Linked DNA regions of Homo sapiens: all the other regions are linked to region 3. Evidence: promoter capture Hi-C in 16 types of primary human blood cells and fetal thymus (Javierre and others, 2016). All regions are on one chromosome and are shown on one strand. Each heading gives the region's core, a stretch centred on a gene start or on the middle of the fragment in contact. The rest is flanking DNA. Distances are from core to core; before and after follow the strand shown. Region 1 has its middle 77 kb from the start of FAM161A. Region 2 holds the start of FAM161A (FAM161 centrosomal protein A). Region 3 holds the start of PAPOLG (poly(A) polymerase gamma).

Evidence for each region. Contacts are between HindIII fragments. The CHiCAGO score rates a contact against its expected background, and 5 or more counts as called.
Region 1: a contact is called between a fragment that was not itself captured here and the fragment with the promoter of PAPOLG in region 3, in 1 of 17 cell types (total B cells). The highest score is 5.7, in total B cells.
Region 2: a contact is called between the fragment with the promoter of FAM161A here and the fragment with the promoter of PAPOLG in region 3, in 6 of 17 cell types (total CD8 T cells, naive CD4 T cells, fetal thymus and 3 more). The highest score is 9.5, in total CD8 T cells.

What each region holds. Positions count from the first base shown.
Region 1 is chr2:61,775,292-61,779,170 of GRCh38, forward strand. No RefSeq gene overlaps it. Among named protein-coding and RNA genes, the nearest start is that of FAM161A, 77 kb to the right of the region's middle. The HindIII fragment of the contact is 5,382 bases long and covers 1-3,879 here.
Region 2 is chr2:61,851,862-61,855,443 of GRCh38, forward strand. It overlaps FAM161A (FAM161 centrosomal protein A), which reads right to left and starts at 2,199. Exons shown (of 7, transcript NM_001201543.2): 1 at 1,998-2,199. The coding sequence starts at 2,180. RefSeq lists enhancers at 1,683-1,812, 1,973-2,132, 2,373-2,602, 3,343-3,392. The HindIII fragment of the contact is 5,666 bases long and covers 1,773-3,582 here.
Region 3 is chr2:60,753,976-60,757,588 of GRCh38, forward strand. PAPOLG (poly(A) polymerase gamma) reads left to right here and starts at 2,293. Exons shown (of 22, transcript NM_022894.4): 1 at 2,293-2,520. The coding sequence starts at 2,504. RefSeq lists an enhancer at 2,209-2,518. The HindIII fragment of the contact is 3,911 bases long and covers 1,846-3,613 here.

The DNA of each region.
Region 1 (3,879 bases), core at 204-2,703, 1.0 Mb after region 3:
CTGGGATTACAGGCGTGAGCCACCACACCCGGCCCTCACAATGTGCTTTCTTATAAGTCAAACTCTACCAGGTAACTTATAAATCGTAAATGAATCCCACTCCAAATTTCTGAATTATTCCAGTTTTTATGTGACATTTTTGATGGGATAAATGAGCATTAGTAGTAAATGTGCTATATTGAAAGAGAAACACAAAAAATGGGAGAATGAACATGAATGTATTATTTTTCTAATATATTGAGTGTGGGAGTCTTAAACCTTCCAATTATTAAAAGGGTCAATGATGGATCCAGTAGTTTAAATTATAATGTTAATATTTGGGCCTGGAAATATATTTTTAAATTATTTATATTCAATCAGCTTTAAAATATTGTAAAACTAGAAAACTGTAATTCAAATTATCTTCTTGTAACATCACTGCTTTAGGAAGTTTCTAGTTCCAAGTAAGATGGAGTGAGCAAATCCCAACCTATCTCTCCTACTGAATGTAGCTATTAACCTGGAAAGAATGCATGGCTCCCAAACTTGAGGACTGAAAAGTAAATCGAAACAGAAAGGTTGGAGAAGAAGGCATGAATATGAAGTACCACTGAACATGCAGAGAGCTTACCATTTTTTCCCCTCTGATATCCCTAGTCTGGACTTGTGCAGCCCAAAAGCCTGAAGTCCAAATCAGTGTGGACAGAAAGAGCTCCAGGAGAAGGCTTCTAGATCTGGCTTGAGGGGTGGAAAAAGAGTTTCCTAATATACAGACAAAGTGGGGGAAATCTCATGTGCTTTGTTTTTTGTTTTGTTTTGTTTTTCTTTTCTCCATTCTCTAGCACCCAAACCTCAAGTAATCCTATAAAAGCAGAAGTGAAAATGACATTAATGGTAAGAGGAGCAGGCAGGTGCCTAAAACTTTGAGAAAAGAGAACTTTCCTCTCTGATCAGAGGTGCTGTGTTCCCAAAAATCAGAGTAGGGTAAATGGCAAACCCCCACTGCTTTCTTTTTTCATCTCTGTCCTCCCACTGCCTCGCTCCAGACATAAGCGTAGTTACGGAAAGTGAACAGAAAAGTAGCGTATGTACTTGGCTGGGCACAGCAGCTCATTCCTATAATCCCAGCACTTTGGGAGGCCGAGGTGGGAGGATCACTTGAGCCCATGAGTTCGAGACCAGCCTGGGCAACACAGTGAGACACTGTCTCTACAAAAAATACAAAAATCCGTTGGGTGTGGTGGTGCGTGCCTGTAGTCCCAGCTACTCAGGAGGCTGAGGTGAGAGGATCTCTGGAGCCCGGAGGTCAAGGCTGCAGTGAGCTGAGATTGCACACCTCAGCCTGGGCAACAGAGAGAGACTCTGTCTCAAAAATAAAATGAAAAACAAAACCCAAGTTTTCTGATCAGAGAACTATAAAAGGGAGCCCCAAGGAATTGGGATAAAACTAGGAAATTGAGTAGAGGAAGGAGCAAAAGTTTATGATTTCTGAGGTAACTCCCAAGCTGTACATGTGTGGATCTGATCCTCAACACTGTACCACAGGCTGTGAGAACTGAACTACACAGTTCCTGCCTCAGACCTTGACTGACCACTGGGTCAAGAACATTCAGGACTGATCCAAATAACACTGCAAAGCCTTTAAAAACAGAACTGATATTAAAATTACAACCTAGAGAAGTCTAATTGGAGTTTACAGTCTAATCCCAACCTGACTGATTATGGCTAACACAAAAATGTCAACATTCACTCCAGGATTTAAACAAAACCTCTAGTCTCGTAGCATAATATTCAAAATATCCAGGATACAATCTAAAATTACTCAGCATTTGAGAAACCAGAAAAATCTAAACTGGGAAAAGATAATTGATAGACACTAACACTAAGATGACACAGATGTTGGCATTATCTGACAAAGACATTAAAGTAGGTGTTATAAAAATATTCCAAAACATCCTTGAAATAAATGAAAACATAAAAAAAAGAAAGTCTTGGCAAAGATTTCCCTTTTTTTTTTTTTTTTTTTTTTTTTTTAGGACAGAGTTTTACTCTTGTTGCCCAGGCTGGAGTGCAATGGGGCAGTCTCAGCTCACTGCAACCTCCGCCTCCTGGATTCAAGCAATACTCCTGCCTCAGCCTCCTAAGTAGTTGGGATTACAGGCACCTGCCACCAAGCCCAGCTAATTTTTGTATTTTTAGTAGAGATGGGGTTTCACCATGTTTGTCAGGTTAGTCTCAAACTCCAGACCTCAGGTGAGGCTGCCCACTTCAGCCTCCCAAAGTGCTGGGATTACAGGCGTGAGCCACCACACCTGGCCATGATTTCCTATTTCTATTGTATTCAGTTTTTCCATTTGAGAACTGAAAAATACAATAGCCAAAATTTAAAACCCACTGGATGGGCTCAGAACAGAATGGAGATGGCAGAGGAAAGAGTCAGTGACCTAGAAGGTACATAATAGAATTACTGATCTGAACAACTGAGAGAAAAAATTACTTAAAAAATAGGAAGAACAGAGCCTTGGGGATCTGTAGGATAGTACTAAAATGCCTCACGTAAATTATTAGAGTCCCAGAGAGGAGAAAGACTGTGATGTAGAAAAAGGTTTTTGGCCAGGCACGGTGGCTTACGCCTGTAATCCCAGCACTTTGGGAGGCCGAGGTGGAAGGATCACCTGAGGTCAGGAGTTTGAGACCAGCCTGGCCAACATGGTGAAACCCCATCTCTACTAAAAACACAAAAATTAGCTAGGTGTGATGACACGTGTCTGTGATACCAGCTACTTGGGAGGCTGAGGCAGGAGAATCACTTGAACCTGGGAAGCAGAGTTTACAGTGAGCCACGATCATGCCTGTTGGGAGCTGAAAAGGACAAAGAGATCGTGACCACTGGAGGCTATATGATCAAACAGCAAACTGTTTATCATGAATGCAGGATGTGAGCAAACTCACGACTGTGCCTGCTGCCAGGAGGTTTGCTGAGGGCAATCACTCCCTGGCACCGGGCTCCTTGAAGTTATCTACTGGGACAACTAGAGCCTACTGTTCAAGGAATGTGGTCTTGCAAGCCTACTCTAGACCGAGCAGCTGACCTCTTCTTCCACACCCCCACTTGTCTCTATCTCTTTTGCCAAATAAATACGGAGGGCTGTTCAGGACCCTTGTCCACTACAGGCAAGGTGCCCTCTGACCCCTTCTTCCAAATATAATCTTTTGTCTTCGTCTTTATTCCCACGTTCGCCTGCCTTTGTTCAGTCCACCACGGATTGAGATCGGTTACAATGCCACTGCTCTCCAGCCTAGGCGACAGTGAGACTCCGTCTCAAAAAAAAAGAAAAAAGAAAAAGGCGTTTGAAGAAATAATGCTTGAAAACTTCTCAAATTTGTTGAAAGACAAACATACAGATTCAAGAATCCCAACAAATCCCAAAAGGATAAACCCAAAGAAATCCATCCTCAGACACGTCATAATCAAACTGCTGGATAAATAAACACACATGAAAAAAAATTTTTTTTAAGAGACAAGGTCTCACTCTGTTGCCCAGGCTCATAGCCTCAACCTCCTGGTCTGAAGAGATCTTCCAGCCAAAGCCTCTTGAGCAGCTAGGACTACAGGTGGATGCCATCATGCCTGCATGATTTTGTACTTTTTTTTTTTTTTTTTTTGTAGAGGGAGGGTCTCACTATTCTGCACAGGCTGGTCTCCAACTCCTGACCTCAAGTAATCCTCCCACCTCAGTCTCCTAAAGTGCTGGAATTACAGGTGTGAGCTACTGCACCCAGCCAAAAAAACTCTTGAAGGAGATTTTTTCCAGGAATCTAGAGGGGAAAAAATGCATTACATAGGGGAAAAATGAAGATGGATTTTTTTAATAAAAAATCATGAAGACCAGGAGAGGC
Region 2 (3,582 bases), core at 949-3,448, 1.1 Mb after region 3:
AGCTGAAAGAGGCCTATTGTGATGGGTGGTTCTCAAATCAATCTTGTGGGTTAGGTATAATATTTGACTTTACTACATTTTATAGATAATAAGGTTAAGGCAAATTAACCTTTAAAAATCAAGATGGAGACCCAAGCCAACCAGTGAAGAAAGCAGAGCCTATTTCCTGCACTCTTCCTGCCTTCTTAATGCCTCTTCCCCCAGCCTGTGCCCCCTGGCTATCAGGCCCACTGTGGCAGCTTACCCAGCTTTACTTTTGGATCCCTCATGTGTGGTGGTCTCAGAACAGTACCAAACTCTTAAGACTTGGCTTCCTTTTTTTTTTTGTAGGATCCTGTCCTTTCCAAACTAGATTATTGTATAAACTGATCCCTCCTAAGGTAATAACAGTTTCTAACACAAATTTGCAGTTTAACAGGGCACTGTGGAAGCATATCTGCAACTTAGAAGTGACTGACTCCTTTACCACAGCAAGCCAAAGTTGAGTTTAATCTTTGGGAAGGCACACAAATGACACTCCCACTGGCAACTCATTTACATAGATTGCTCTTTAGAGGAGACACACATTCTTTCATTTGGTTCTCATAGAGCTGAGATGGGAAAAAAGAGACAATTATTATAGTTATTTTACAGATAAGGAAACTGAGGTTTAAGGAAATTATGTCCTAACACCACCTAGGAAGTGGCAGGGAATGGATCCTAATACAGAACTCTTCAATCCTTTTTCTCCATCACGTTGCCTTGTTGCCTACTGAAAATTGTGTTGAGGGGTAGCTTCATCATGAACAAAATCGGTCCTAGCACTCTGATCCTGGTTCATGTTCAGGGTCTCAGTCTGCCTTACTCTGGATAACTTCAAGTTGTTTGTCTGTTGGTGAAAGATTGGTCACAAAAGGTGTTGCTAAAGATGTTCTCATTAACAATTTTACTGTAGATTAAAGAGATCAGAATTCCAAAATATCCAGTGATTTCAGTTAGTCCTCAATCATAAGTTTGGTGTCTGAGAAGCTTTGGACACATGGTATTAGGAAATTTTTTCTATCTGCAGATTGCTAGTTTAAATTCAAGATTCCCATCTTTTTTTTTTTTTTTTTTTTTTGAGACTGGGTCTGAGATCTCAGCTCACTGCAACCCTCACCTCCCAAGTTCAAGCGATTCTCCTGCCTCAGCCTTCCGAGTAACTAGGATTACAGGGGCGCACCACCACGCCCGGCTAAATTTTGTATTTTTAGTACAGACGGGGTTTCACCATGTTGGTCAGGCTGGTCTCGAACTCCTGACCTCGTAACCCGCCCACCTCGGCCTCCCAAAGTGCTGGGATTATAGGCACGAGCCACCGCGCCCGGCCAAGATTCCCATCTTTTAAGTGAATTGAGCAGATGGCAGACCCTGCCCTCTACCTGCTGGACTGGTGTCCACAACAGATTTAACAATGAAAACTGATCAGTGAAAAGGCCGTCTCGCTGTACCCTAAAGAGCTGTTTAGGAAACACTGAAACCTCAGTGATTTGCTTATCTGTATCCGTGTCTGATTTAGCCAGTGAACACGTGATGGTTTTAAACACACATCTTTAGAGCACTATGTTGAGATCCGCTTATAACCAAGATCTTAAGGTAATAACGAAACACACCTGACAGAACAGTTTTCCTCAAATTACTATATATAGCCAGATATATCTCTATATATCCATTCCCGAGATGCTGGAGAGTAGAGAGTAAAATTCTATACTTTGCACTTGCCAGAAGCAGAGTAACATAAATGTTGTCTAGGAAGCTTTTACAACAGACTGGTGAAAATTAAAACACTTTTCAACGCCTCGATTTAGAGTAATTTTCGTGAGCGTAGAGAAGGGGCTGGGCCAGGACCACCAAGTAGGGACTATGTGCACAGGGACCCGCGTTTACCAGCCTGCCCTCAGCTGGGCGGGGAACCGGACAGCCCTCAGCCTGCACCCAGCCCATGCGAGGTCCCAGCCCAAGTCCCGCCCCAGTATTACCGATGCCCCAGCGGGCTGAGCCACTTTCTCCTCCTCTTCGTCCTCCAAGATCGCCTCCGCTGCCGCCAGGGCCTTTAAGGGGTCTTCGCGTTCGTACTGGGCGACCCGCGCTCCAGTGATGGGATTTACCGGGGTCTGGAGACTGGAGGCCACCAGCTTCGCCACTCGGTGGGAGGTGGCCATCGCCCCGCCTCCGAGGCCTGAGCGCCTGCGCTGGCCCGGGACGGGAAAGCTGGTGCGGCCCCTGGCAACCCGGGGGCGCCTAGCTAGGGAGCCGGTTGCTATGGGCGCCGTAACTGGGGACGCTACAGGAGCCGCCAGGGACCAAAAGTCACGCAAAATCCACTCAGGCTGCCAGAGACCCGAGTCGGGTGCTTACTGGATCATGGCAGTCAGTACCGAGTCTGTTGGCTGGTTCCGAAGGTTGGCAGGCTGAACAGGGCACTTATTCCACTCCTTTGCGTCTAACCGCCTGAACGCAGACTTCTCACATTATACAATGAAACAACTGCTTTTGTGAAGAAAAGAACGCTTTTTTATTAACTGCAATAACATGTTAGAAGGAGACAGTTGATGGAGGAGACGGCGGCGGCGGAGGAAAGCAGGGCGTGTTACTGGGTGGCGGTCTCAGAAGAGTGACAAGGTTGGCGTCCCGCTACCTAACATGTCTCCCGCGGGGGCCAGAGTGGGAAGGAGGGCGGTACATTCTACTCTGATTGACTTGAGGGCTAGCAGGAATCCACCAATCAGAAGGAGGCTCCCAGTTGTCCCTCTCGCTTTTTTCTTGACATGACCAATAAAAGCCCAGAGTTGGGTGGCGCCTGACCCTCCCACTAATGAGTGATAGTGCAGGTATTGTAAACCTGGCGTTTGCTTTGGGTTCTTCAGCTTGAGAGTGACAGGATTGAACGGCACAAGTGCCCAAGAGTCACCACAGACACATCCATCTCCCTCATCCGTATCTTCTCTTCCCACTCGGGATTTGGACGCATCAAATGGCGCCTTCCCTCTGCACCACGTGGCAGTAAGAGAAGCCAAACCTCAAAATAGCGGACGTGGTGCAGTCTCAGACATCTGCTCCCTGAGCCCCTGCTTACTGAGGCCGAGGCTGCCGCCCCCTATCTACTCCCTATCTACCCCCTCTCTATCCTTTGCCCTCCTCCTGCTCCCCAGCCCTACGACCGGCCCCCTCCGGTCAGTATTTTCCTCGTTATGCGCTGCACATCGTCGAGAACCCGTCTCTAAGGTCTGAGCCCTTACCAAACCTTTGTTCTCCTGTCTGGGTGTGAGCACCTACAAAGTCTCCTACGTCCCCACTTCCTTCAGGCTGCTCTTGGTTTTAGCTGAACAGTTGCTTCCCATGCTGGAACAGATGCTGACTGGGTTCTAAGCAGAAGCCAGAGCCAGAACCATGAGATATGCACCGCCAGGTGTGGCCAAGTTTCCAGGGGAGCAATTTCCAGTCAGACACGGCAGCCAGTTTTGTGGCTACAAAACTGCCTCAGCCTCCGGAGTAGCTGGGATTACAGGCGCACTCCCGGGAGGCGGAGGTTGCAGTGAGCCGGGATGGCGCCACTGCACTCCA
Region 3 (3,613 bases), core at 1,043-3,542:
TGGGAAAAATACAGTATCCTTATTGAGATGGGGGTTAGGGACTGTCATTAAATCCCAGGTAGATTAACAAAGACAGGAAAATGGGAAGAAAAGCAATTGATTAAAACACCGTGGCCGGGCATGGTGGCTCACGCCTGTAATCCCAGCACTTTGGGAGGCTGAGGCTGGCGGATCACGAGGTCAGGAGTTCAAGACTAGCCTGACCAATATGGTGAAACCCTGTCTGTACTAAAAATACAAAAATTAGGCTGGAAGCGGTGGCTCACGCCTGTAATCCCAGCACTTTGGGAGGCTGAGATGTGCGGCCAACATGGTGAAAGTCCATCTCTAAAATACAAAAAATTAGCCAGGCGTGGTGGCGCACGCCTGTAGTCCCAGCTACTCGGGAGGCTGAGACAGGAGAATCATTTGAACCCAGGAGGCAGAGGATGCAGTGAGCCAAGATCATGCCACTGTGCTGCAGCCTAGGTGACAGAGCAAGACTCCATCTCAAAAATAAATAAATAAATAAATAATAAAACACTGCTTGGCTGGGTGTGGTGGCTCACATCTGTAATCCTAGCACTTTGGGAAGCCGAGGTGGGCGGATTACCTGATGTCAGGAGTTTGAGACTAGCTGGCCCACATGGTGAAACCCCGTCTGTACTAAAAATACAAAAATATAGCTGGACGTGGTGGTGCATGCCTGTAATCCCACCTACTCAGGAGGCTGAGCAGAGATCACGCCACTGCACCCCAGCCTGGGCAACAGAGCGAGACTCCATCTCAAAAAAACCTCTGCCTCTCGGGTTCACGCAATTCTCCTGCCTCACCCTGCTGAGTAGCCGGGATCACAGGCGCACCACGCACCCAGCTAGTTTTTCTATTTTTAGTAGAGATGGGGTTTCACCATGTTGGCCAGGCTGGTCTCGAACTCCTGACCTCAAGTGATCCACCCGCCTCAGCCTCCCAAAATGTTAGGATTACAGGTGTGATCCACCACACCAGGCCACGTCAGGTTTTTGTTGTTGCTTTTAAGTAGAGATGGGTTTTTGCCATGTTGGCCAGGCTGGTCTTAATAGAACTCATGGCCTCAAGTGATCCACCAGCCTTGGCGTCACAAAGCACTGGGATTGCAGGCAAGAGCCACTGCACCTTGCTCAGGTTTTCAAAAATATGTTTTGTAGTTTTTATTTATTTATTTATTTATTTATTTTTTTGAGACAGGGTCTCCTTCTATCACTCTGGCTGGAATGCAGTGGTGCCATCCTGGTTTCCTGCAGCCTCCACGTCCTGGACTCAAAGAGATCCTCCCACCCCAGCCTCCTGAGTAGCTGGGACTACAGGCATGGGCCACCATGCCCAGCTAATTTTTTTAAAACTTTTTGTAGTGACAGGGTCTCACTATGTTGCCCAGGCTGTTCTCGAACTCCTGGCCTCAAGCAATTCTCCCACCTTGGCCTCCCAAAGTGCTGGGATTACAGGTGTGAGCCACTGTATCTTGCCTCAATAAATATTTTTTAATGAATTAATCAGCAAGTAATCTCCTCTATTTACTGTGACTCTGAGTTATGTTCAAGAGCAAGCAGTTCTTGACTTCCTTTTCTTTGTAATGATTTAGTGCTTGAAATTACTTCTACCTTTCAGCATTTTAAAATTGGTTATTATTTTCTCATTTTCATCCCCACACTCACATCGAACATGATTTCCACTATTTAAAAGTGTAAGATTTTTGTTTCAGCCTGGGATTTATCCTATTGCAAACTGCTAGCTACTATTTTCAACCTCTGTCAGCTAAATGCCAGAATGTCACTAATCAAAGGTGGTACTTAGGGGTGAAGTGAACAGTTAAGCCTCCAATTTACAAGCTTGTTTTTCCCTGGGATACTTGTGTGAAAGTCGTATGTTCCTGGGTGTGACCCTTTCGAGACAAAATCTCAACTGGTGAGTTAATTATGTATAACTATAATTAAATCAAAGATGTAGGATAACGGAGGCGTTGAAATAGTTTTTGCTAGGCAAGGGTGTGACCTTTTTAAAAAATGTATGATATATGCTGCCATTCGAGAGGCAAGGAAAACATATCTCCAAATTTCCTTCCAAGCGGTCTACCGGCATTGACAGTACCGCGGACAAAGGAGAGTACCAAATAAATACTCCTTCGAACCAACGGTATACTGAGAGCCCTGAGCTTGTGGGCGGGGCCCCGGAGCCTCCCGGGACCTAAAGGCAGAGGGGGCGTGGCTGAGGGTGGTCCAGACCTCCAGGGGCGGGGCTGAGACCTGCGAGAGGCAGGCTGGGAAGCGGCGCCATATTGGCGTCGGCCGCGCTGTATTGTCATAAATAGAGCCGGTTTTGTGGTGTTTTCACTACTCGGTTGGATGCCTCAGCCATAGTAAGTGGGAAAGTGAGCGAGCAAGCGAGCTACTAGCGACCGGAGGAAAGTGAACAGGGGGAGAAGGGAACAGCAAGAACAGGACTCCAGAGCGATAAACACTCGCTGGAGAGGGAGACGCAGGAAGCGATGAAAGAGATGTCTGCGTAAGTGGTGGGGGGCGGCGGTTGGGGTGAGGCGGGTAGGGGTGAGCTGAGGTGGTCCGACTGTGTCCTTGTTTCCGTTCCCTGTCCCTTGCGCCCTGCACGCAGCTCGCCGGGATGGTCTCCTTCCCGGCTCCCGGCCGGTCCGCAAGGGCACCTCCCCTAAACCCGGCGGCTCACCTGGCCACCCCTGCACGGACTCGGGGACTCCGGGAGTCCCCAGCTGTCCCGCCTCCGAGGACGCCCTCAGAAAAGGATGAGGAGGGAAAGAGGTGCCTGTGTCCGTAGGGAGAAATTGTCGGTCACTCGCCTGCCCCCAGCACTGTCTGAGCCCGTCTGCTCCTGTCTGCATTGGCGCAAATACCATCCCCCTGCCTCCCCCTCCTCCCTTCCCGACCGGCTGTCTCCAGGTCTTCAGGAGTGAAAGACCTATCGCAGCCCAAGGGTTTCTCTTTCATATGAGGCTACAGTCTTTTCACCGCCGTCCCCACCCTCTCCCTCACCCCCTGCTTCCCCACCTACCCACAACATCTACCGGTCTGTACCTCTTGTTCACACTTTGATAAGTCAGAAACAGTTCCCGTACTTGGCAAGATTTTGTTGTAGCTTCTTCCATTTTGGTCTATTAGGAAATAATTTAAACATGCAGAAAAATGTAGAGAATAACATAAGCATCATTTGTGGAGCCACCACCCATTTCTCCCAAAACGTAACTGTACACACATACACGTACATGCACACACGCACACACACGGTGTGTATATACGTATCTGTGTATTTATTTTAAAAAGAAATCAAGCATTCCAGATACATCTGAAGGACTCTCCTACCTCCTTCTCTGGTCCCAATCATCTCTTGCTCCAGATGTCTCCACAGTCTTGAATTTGATGTTTATCGTTGCTGCCTGTTTTTTATTTTACTTCTTTTTTTTCCGCCCTCGAATCATGGGAGCTGCATGTTTTTTAATGCTATTACTACATACACATGTGTTCATAATAACTGGCATAGTTCTAGTTGTTTTTAAACTTTATATAACTCGTATCACACTTGGAATTCTGTAACTTCTTTAGCACAACATAGTATCTCTGAGCTTTGT